2 separate regions of the Homo sapiens genome follow, and region 2 is linked to region 1. The links are contacts of gene promoters, found by promoter capture Hi-C in human tissues and cell types (Jung and others, 2019). All regions are on one chromosome and are shown on one strand. Each heading gives the region's core, a stretch centred on a gene start or on the middle of the fragment in contact. The rest is flanking DNA. Distances are from core to core; before and after follow the strand shown.

What was found. The method cuts DNA at HindIII sites, captures the fragments that hold promoters and counts their contacts. A contact is called where the count stands out against the background at its distance.
Region 2: a contact is called between a fragment that was not itself captured here and the fragment with the promoter of C4orf46 in region 1, in 1 of the 25 tissues and cell types used here (lymphoblastoid cells).

Annotation. Positions count from the first base shown.
Region 1 is chr4:158,669,452-158,673,645 of GRCh38, reverse strand. C4orf46 (chromosome 4 open reading frame 46) reads left to right here and starts at 1,759. Exons shown (of 2, transcript NM_001008393.4): 1 at 1,759-2,030; 2 at 3,878-4,194. The coding sequence starts at 1,845. The coding sequence ends at 4,033. ETFDH (electron transfer flavoprotein dehydrogenase) reads right to left here and starts at 1,350. Exons shown (of 13, transcript NM_004453.4): 1 at 1,156-1,350. The coding sequence starts at 1,189. RefSeq lists enhancers at 1,002-1,503, 1,105-1,664, 1,507-2,143, 2,144-2,780 and a silencer at 2,085-2,154. The HindIII fragment of the contact is 11,975 bases long and covers 1-4,194 here.
Region 2 is chr4:159,187,368-159,191,561 of GRCh38, reverse strand. All of the region lies in intron 2 of RAPGEF2 (Rap guanine nucleotide exchange factor 2), which reads right to left. Among named protein-coding and RNA genes, the nearest start is that of MIR3688-1, 61 kb to the right of the region's middle. The HindIII fragment of the contact is 3,893 bases long and covers 443-4,194 here.

The DNA.
Region 1 (4,194 bases), core at 510-3,009:
GGTGACATGAAATTTAAACAAAGTTCTAATTTCTTAATATATGGAAGCCAAATTTAACAAAATTCTACTTTCATGAAATTTCATAAGAATATCCTTGAATTTGGAATATTTAGACTTAATGATTCTATCACCAAAACTTAAGTAAACTAAAGATTTAAAAAAATTAAGCCAGTTATGACAGAATATGAGATCCTTTAGGGAACTTTTCTGTTTGAATTAACGACAACAACAAAAATTTAAGTAAAACTTTAAAAAGACCATCCAACTTCATCTGTCACGATGGTTCACAGAATACCCATAACACGATAAAGCCCTTAGAGTTAATTTAATTTAATTTTTTTTTGAGACGGAGTCTGGCTCTTTCACCTAGGCTGGAGTGCAGTGGTGCGATCTCAGCTCACTGCAACCTCCACCTCCGGGTTCAAGTGATTCTCCTACCTAAGCCTCCTGAGTAGCTGGGATTACAGGAGTGGGCCACAACGCCCAGCTAATTTTTGTATTTTTAGTAGAGATGGGGTTTCACAATGTTGGCCAGGCTGGTCTTGAACTCCTGACCTCAGGTGATCCATCCGCCTCAGCCTCCCAGAGTGCTGGGATTACAGGCTTGAGCCACCACGCCCAGCCCTTAATTTTAGACAACGCAGAAAAACTGGCTCCAGATACACTTGGGTGACTTGGTCAACATATGAATGTTAACCATGATGTGACAGATCAGACTTCAATTTCTTTAGACTGAACTAGAATGGCTCCGAAGACGAAAGTCAGGTCAGGACCAGGGAGAAAAACTGGGCAAATACGATTTTTTTTTTTCCATTTCCAACAGAGGTTTGAAGATTAGAACCAGGATTTGGGAAGCCTCAGTTCAGGAGTCCACCGAGGTGTGTGTGTGTTGACAGGTGGTGGTGATGCCGAGGGCGTGTTGACAAGTTTTCCCCGCCCTTGACCTTTAGCCTAGATATTAATTCTACCAACTGGGGCAACCCCAGAGGGAGGAAGCCAGGGTCCCCCAACAGGCTGACAGCGCGTGACCTTTGCCCTAGATAGCCTGAGAAAGCTGATGAGAGAAGGGGCGAGAGGTGCCTACAGCCCCCAGGACCGGCCTTGTCCCTTTTGCCCTAACTCCTCCACTTATCCCCACCGCCCGTTTCCTCTCACCCAGGCAGGACAGCTTGGCTAGCGGCACCAGCATGTTCAAAGTCACCAGGACTCTCGGTCGGACACAACAGGAGGACTGTCCGCTGCTCGCGGCGGGCGCTGGACCTCTAGGCCGCGGGGGGCGCCATCACCTGCCGGAAAGCAAGAACTCTGCTGCAGTTCGCCTCCCCGCTCTGCCGACCGCTCTTGCTTCACGGCGTTCCCACCTCCTTCTCGCTCTGCGCCGGCGCCATGGATGACGCAACGGCCAGCCGAGGCTTCCGGGTCATGTACCAAACCAGGGAAAGATAAGGGACTCCAAGTCCCAGCCGGGGAGCGGTGAAACAGCCACAGCGCGGCCAGAGGGGTCCGCGAATCCCACAGCACGACGCACGCGCAGTGAAAGGCAGTAGAAGGCGGGGCGACGCACACGGCTTCCTGGGAGGTGTAGTTTTCTCTACGAGTGCCCTTCGAGATCGATTGGAGGCTCGCGCAGGAGCCGTGAGTTGCCTAAGGTGAATTGACTCATATGATTGGCTGTCCCGAAAAATGAAACGTCTTTGTGGTCCGGGGCTGAGACCCACGAGGAGACTGGGCGGGATTTCTGGCGTTAGGAGGCGGGGCCTTTCGGCTTTGGGCGCGAGTGGTTAAAAGACAGTTGGTGTCGGTTCGGCTTCTCGGGTCGGATTCCGCGGTCCCAACCCTTCCCCATGGCCGACCCTGAGGAGTTGCAGGTTTCTTCGCCGCCCCCGCCGCCTCCCTCTTCTCCCTCCTCTTCAGACGCCTCTGCAGCATCTTCCCCGGGCGGCCCAGTGAGTTTGGGCTGGCCAGTTCCGAGCAGGAGCAGCGGCCCAACGGTGGACCAGCTGGAGGAAGTGGAGCTGCAGATCGGAGACGTGAGTGTGGTGTCGGGACCGCGTCCCCCCTCGGCGCCTCTGGGAAGACCGGCGGCGGCGGGGCTCGCGAGGCTAGGGAATCGGTCCCCCAACCCCCATGACCCGGGACGACCGGCCCTTCTGCGCCCCAGAGCGTGCGGGCGGGAAGCGGGGGGGATGCCAGCAGCTAAAGTGCCACCCCTCTCTGAGGGTTCCCCCTTTAGATTTAGTGGTGAGGAGTCTTAAGGGGTTTTCCTTCCACCCGCCCCACCCCTCACTGGTTTCTTTTTGTCTCGCCTTCTGGTTTCAATCATCCGCAGTAACCCGAAGCCACGCAGCTCTGCGCTGCCTGTTGCTGGCTCTCTGCCTCCTCCTTTCCCATCGGAGAATAGTTTTCATTGCATGGGTTTCGGAGAATAGTTTTCACTGCATGAGTTTGCTGGCTTTCTGTGGGTACTTGAGATCAGGCTGTGATTTCTTTCCATGGGACTTAGAGCCTGCTGTTCTAGTTGGCCACCTGCCCAGGGACAGCTGATAATGCCATTGTCTGCCCCAGGCCTGCTTAGCGCTGGACCCAGCTTGAAGGGTTTAGGTCACGTGGATTGGCTTCTTTGACGGTTTAGTTCAGGACTCCTCCCTTTGTATGATTGCTAGAATGCATACTTAGGATAGTTTCTGTTAAATCTCGAATCCCCAGAAACTAGCACCCCACCTCCCAACCGTAACTCACACACCACTGGAGGGGAGAAGACAGGGAAGGGGAGTTTTATGTTCTCTTGAGTGGGTCAAGTGGAATGAGGTATGTAGAGTGTAACCTGGGAGAGTTCTGTGGCCTGACCTTTCCTGCAGATTGGAAACTAGGGGATGAACTAGATTATCTCATTGCTCCGCAAGTATTTTTTTTTAAGGATGACTAGAGTGCTTAACCAGCTTTTATTTTTGCAGAACAAACTGATTGCAAGTAAATATGTAGAATGAAGTGCTAATGTGTTATTGAGGAACACTGTTTTATTTTATATCATTGGTGAAGAAAACGTTTGGCTGAAAAGTGAATTTTCCACCAGGAGCTGAGTGTTTTCTGCATTTGTGTGTGATTTTTTAATGTTATTTGTCAGAGCTCAGAGTTTCTGTTCTTTGATCTATACATTTTCATTGTTTAAAGTGTTCACAGGTCAATGCCCATGTTACCCAAATAGCAGTAAGAATTATTTATGATGAAATCTCTCAGATATATCTGGCGCTTAGTGTCAAGGGGTCCAAGTCATCTTGTTGAGCTGAGACTCTAGTGTATTTTCATAGAAAACAGCAATCCTGGGCCAAGCACGGTGGCTCACGCCTGTAATCCCAGCACTTTGGGAGGCTGAGGCAGGCGGATCACCTGAGGTCAGGAGTTCGAGACCAGCGTGACCAACATGGAGAAACCCTGTTTCTACTAAAAATACAAAATTAGCTGTGCGTGGTGGCGCATGACTGTAATCCCAGCTACTAAGGAGGCTGAGGCAGGAGAATCACTTGAACCCGGGAGGCGGAGGTTGCAGTGAACCAAGATCGCGCCATTGCACTCCAGCCTGGGAAACGAGCGAAACTCCGTCTCAAAAAAAAAAAAAAAAAAAGAAAACAACTATACTGATTTGTCATATCTCAGACATAATGGATATTTTTCTAGCAGACCTGTTTCTTCAAAGTCTACTCAATATTAAAGAATTTCTTAGGTTCCGTGAAAGAGCCAGTGCTGTAGTTTGAAAACTGATTACTTTGAAAGAAAATAACATGGGCATTGGATTCAAAGCCTTAAGCTATTTTCAGCCTGCTTATAAAATGAGATGAGAATTTTAAAAATAAAATTATGTTTGACTTTTTTTTTTTAGGCAGCCTTTTCATTAACCAAACTTCTTGAAGCCACATCTGCAGTATCAGCTCAAGTGGAAGAACTTGCCTTCAAATGTACAGAAAATGCACGTTTCCTTAAAACGTGGCGGGACCTCTTGAAAGAAGGCTATGATTCTTTGAAACCTGATGACTGATTTGGCATACTTCGTTGTTTAATAATGACTGCAATAATTCATACTTCTTATGTCATATTTTGTACATGTACCACACATATAGGATGACCTCTGTCCAGCAGTTCTGTATATACTCAGAATGAAATTTTTCTTGGTTTTCTTGGTTTTTGTGAAAGCAGAAT
Region 2 (4,194 bases), core at 1,140-3,639, 520 kb before region 1:
TCCTCATGTTGGCCAGTATGGTCTCGATCTTGTGACCTCGTGATCCGTCCACCTTGGCCTCCCACAGTGCTGGGATTACAGGCATTAGCCATCGCGCCCGGCCTGAGTTGTCTATATATTCTATCTCTATTTTCTCACCCCTTTCCCCACTCCTCCATCATTTGGTCCCTAAAACTCCAAAGAAAAAGCTCTAAAAATAATCAGCATCCAACTTGTTATCAGAATCCTACCTGTCCTTAGCAATTCCACTACTCTGCAGTATTTGATTACTCCTTTTTCCTCACAGCATTATTTCCTTTCAGCAACCTGTCCTTGGTCTTCTGCTTTTCCAGCTTAACTTACTAGTCATTTTTTTTTTCTGTCTCTTTTGGATGCTCCCCAACTTCATCCTCTACCTGACTTCTAAATGTTATCATCTCCAGGGTCCTGTCCTTAGCCCTCTTCTCTATGCTCCAGTAATCTCACCCAGTTCATGATTTTAATCTATACACTGATGACTTCCAAAGCAATGCCCCAGACCTGATCTCTCATCACGGCAGCCACTCATTTAAATGCCTACTCAGTGCTGCCACTTGAATATGTAACAGCCACCTCATGCTTACAATATCTAAGACAGAATATGAATTTCTCCCCCAAAATATGCTTTCCCAGAATTAGTACCCTGATATGGTTTGGCTGTATCTCCACCCAAATCTTATCTTGAATTGCAGTTCCCATAATCCCCACATGTCATGAGAGGGATCAGTGGTGATAACTGAATTATGGGGCTGGTTCCCCCAGTCCTGTTCTGGTGTTAGTGAGTTCTTAAATGATCTGATGGTTTTATAAGGGGCTTCCCCCTTCGCTGGGCACTCATTCTTCTCTCTCCTGCCACTTGTGAAAAAAGATGTGTTTGCTTCCCCTTCTGCCATGATTGTAAGTTTTCTGAGGCCTCCCCAGCCATGCGGAACTATGAGTCAATTAAACTTCTTTCCTTTATAAATTACCCAGTCTCGGGTATGGCCTTATAGTGAGAACAGACTAATACAGTAACAACCTTAGAGTCATCATTCCTGACTTCTCTCTTTTCTTCACATACATCTTTCCGCCATCACCTGTTTCCAAAATACATCCTCCAGAACTGACCAAATTCACCATCTCTCCTGTTAAATCTAGCATGAGCTATCATTATCCCACCATTATCCCTTACCAAGACCACAAGTACAGAGACTTCTGCTTCCACCTTTACATGCCTATTGTCCATTCCCCACAAGGCCCCACAAAGCTTCCAGAGATCTTTCCAACCACTAAGTCAGATGATCTCACAGCTCCACTCTAATCTCCACAACCTCTAAAAGAAAATCCAAACTCCTATGCTATTTGCTATACTTCTACACTGTTATATTTTACTTACTTACTGTGCCTTACTATACCGTGGACCCTGCCTTTCCCTGCACCAAGCCTGTGCCCATGACAGAGCATCTGGGGCACCTCTACACTGAAGAAATCTTTGCAGGCTGTCCTGACTCTAATGTCACCCCTCCTTTTGACTCCAAAGCCAGAGCTGTCTAGCACCCATCCTCATCATGTCCAGCATACTAAATAAAGTAACATTGATCCAAATATCAATCTTTTCTGCTCCACTAGGAACCTCAGTTCCGTGATGTCAGGGGTTTGATTTACTTCAATGCAGTATCTCCAGAGCCTACATCAATATCAAGTACACAGTAAGTATACAATCAATTGATAACTGTTTATAAAATAAATTTAAACAGTGCTATCAGAAAGTCATGATAAAATCTCTTATATGAAAATGTCATAAATGGAGGAATCAAGTACCAAAATGCTTTTTGTCTTTAAACATTGTTAGACAATGTTTTAGCTGAAGCATATTGACCTTCCCTGAGTTCCTATGAGAATAATAACCATAATTCGGTTACTACTCAAAGATCTAAAGGCGCCTATATAGTAACAATTACACTCATCCATGATGCTGCAGAAAATATGTATTATTTTATTTCAGCAGGCTCTTGTTTCCAAAACTGAATAGCCCCAATTACTCTACTTTTTTAAACAGATTTTTGGTCTCTGCTCCCAATTACAGCATACTCTTCCCCGCTGGCAAATATGCTGCTTCTTGCCTATATAAACTAAACGGATAAAACATTAGAAAAATAGTTAAAATGATGAAGAAACATAGTTTTTAGTGAAGATCTGAAAAACCTTTACATTGCACAGTGTGTGATCTTACAGCAACACAGTAATGTCTACTTTAACTGCTCTGTAACAATGCAGGGAAGCTTTCAAATAAATAAAAGCCACTTCCACTCCCCCACAGGAGAACACGAATGTTGCTGCTCTACTGCCCAATACTTAACAGACTGAAAATCTTGATTATGAGCACTTATTTCCTAAAATTGTAAAACTGTGTCATGTGGAAGTCTTAACTGACTGCTCTCTATTATTCCCAGGGTATAAAATTAAAGGAAAATAATTTATCTAAAGGAGATATATTTTTCCCAGAAATTGTAGTATTATAAAGCAGTTTAAGTTGTTGGGTTTATCTGTACCTCTATTTTTGTTATTATGTATGTGGTATCCTGATCTTGTTCTAAAAAAGAACTTAAATTAGTTTAAGGTGATGTTTTCCATTAATATGACTTCAACACAAGCATAAGATAAACATCTCACAGGCTCCGCCCTGTAGGTTCATGCCAACAAACACATCTGTGTAGGCTCCAAAATAGACATTCTAAGGTGTAAATAGACTCAACTATACCCTTGAACTTATTATTTATAACCAAAATTACTTCTGCAGCTGCAGAAAGTTGACAGTTCTGAAACTGGCTGATGGGTGTATGGAACTTCATTAGTATTTTTATACCTTTTCTTTTTTTTCTTTTCTTTTTTTTTTTTTTTGAGATGTAGTCTCATTCTGTTGCCCAGGCTGGAGTGCGGTGGTGCGATTTCTGCTCACTGCAACCTCTGCCTCCCAGGTTCAAGCGACTCTCCTACCTCAGCTTCCACAGCAGCTGGGATTATAAGCGTTTGCCAACACGCCCCGCTAATTTTTGTATTTTTAGTAGAGATGGGGTTTCACCACGTTGGCCAGGCTAGTGTTGAACTCCTGACCTCAAGTGATCCACCCACCTCGGCCACCCAAAGAGCTGGGATTACAGGCATGAGCCACCACGCCCAGCCTATTTATACTTTTGTCATCCAGAAAATTTCTGTAAGTATAAAAAATCCTTTTTCTATTGCATAGAATTCCTATTATCTAAATAAAATGCATTATATAATCAATATATCTAAATATTACATGTGTGGTTTTATGTGCACAGTGGGAATGTGACATTTGTATTTACATATTAATTAGTTGCATTTCCATTTATGAATTAACCGCACGCAATTAAATAATTGTTAGTACAATTTTTTCTTAGCAAAGTTGTCGTCACAAAATATAAAATGAAAGTTACACACTTTAAAAATTATTCTTGCTCTAATTTGAGCCATCTTCTAAAATCCCAGTGGTTTTGCCCTTTCTAATAAAACTTGACTTAATTTTTAAACACTTAATCTACAATCTACTTTAATTTAAATGACTTTCATTAAAAATTTAATTTTAGAAGTACTCAATCCTCTTGATATTCTTTTCAATTAACTAAATATGGAATTGACATGCTCACAAATTAATTAGTGTTGAAAGAGTAAAGGGGAAATATATGGAAAAAGCATTCCTTTCATAATTAAAACCCGCTGGCATCAAAAATAGCTAGACCTGGAAAAAACAAGACTTTCCCATTATGTCCTAGTTGGTGTTTATATATTATCCATCTTCCTAAGGTCCTTTATTTTATATCCCACTTAAGGTAAAATCATTTTTGTTCTTTAATATGAAGCCCAGATAAACATAAATATAGTTGCTGTATTACTGTACAACAGAAGTGATGAGATTTCTATATGGGCAGATCTCATAAAAACAAATATAGTATAAACTGTGTTTCTCTGAAAAAGGTAGTCTACTTAATGCAATAAAATATTCAAACAAAGATATACAACATACTAAAATAATGGACCTAGTAATTCTTTAAATGATTAATTTAAAAGGTTCTGGTTTCTAATATATCTGAATGCTAAGTAGTAGGTTTTTATTTGCCAAGATGGCAAATATTGCCCCTATTGATATATTCACCAAGTGGCATTTACTACTTTTGG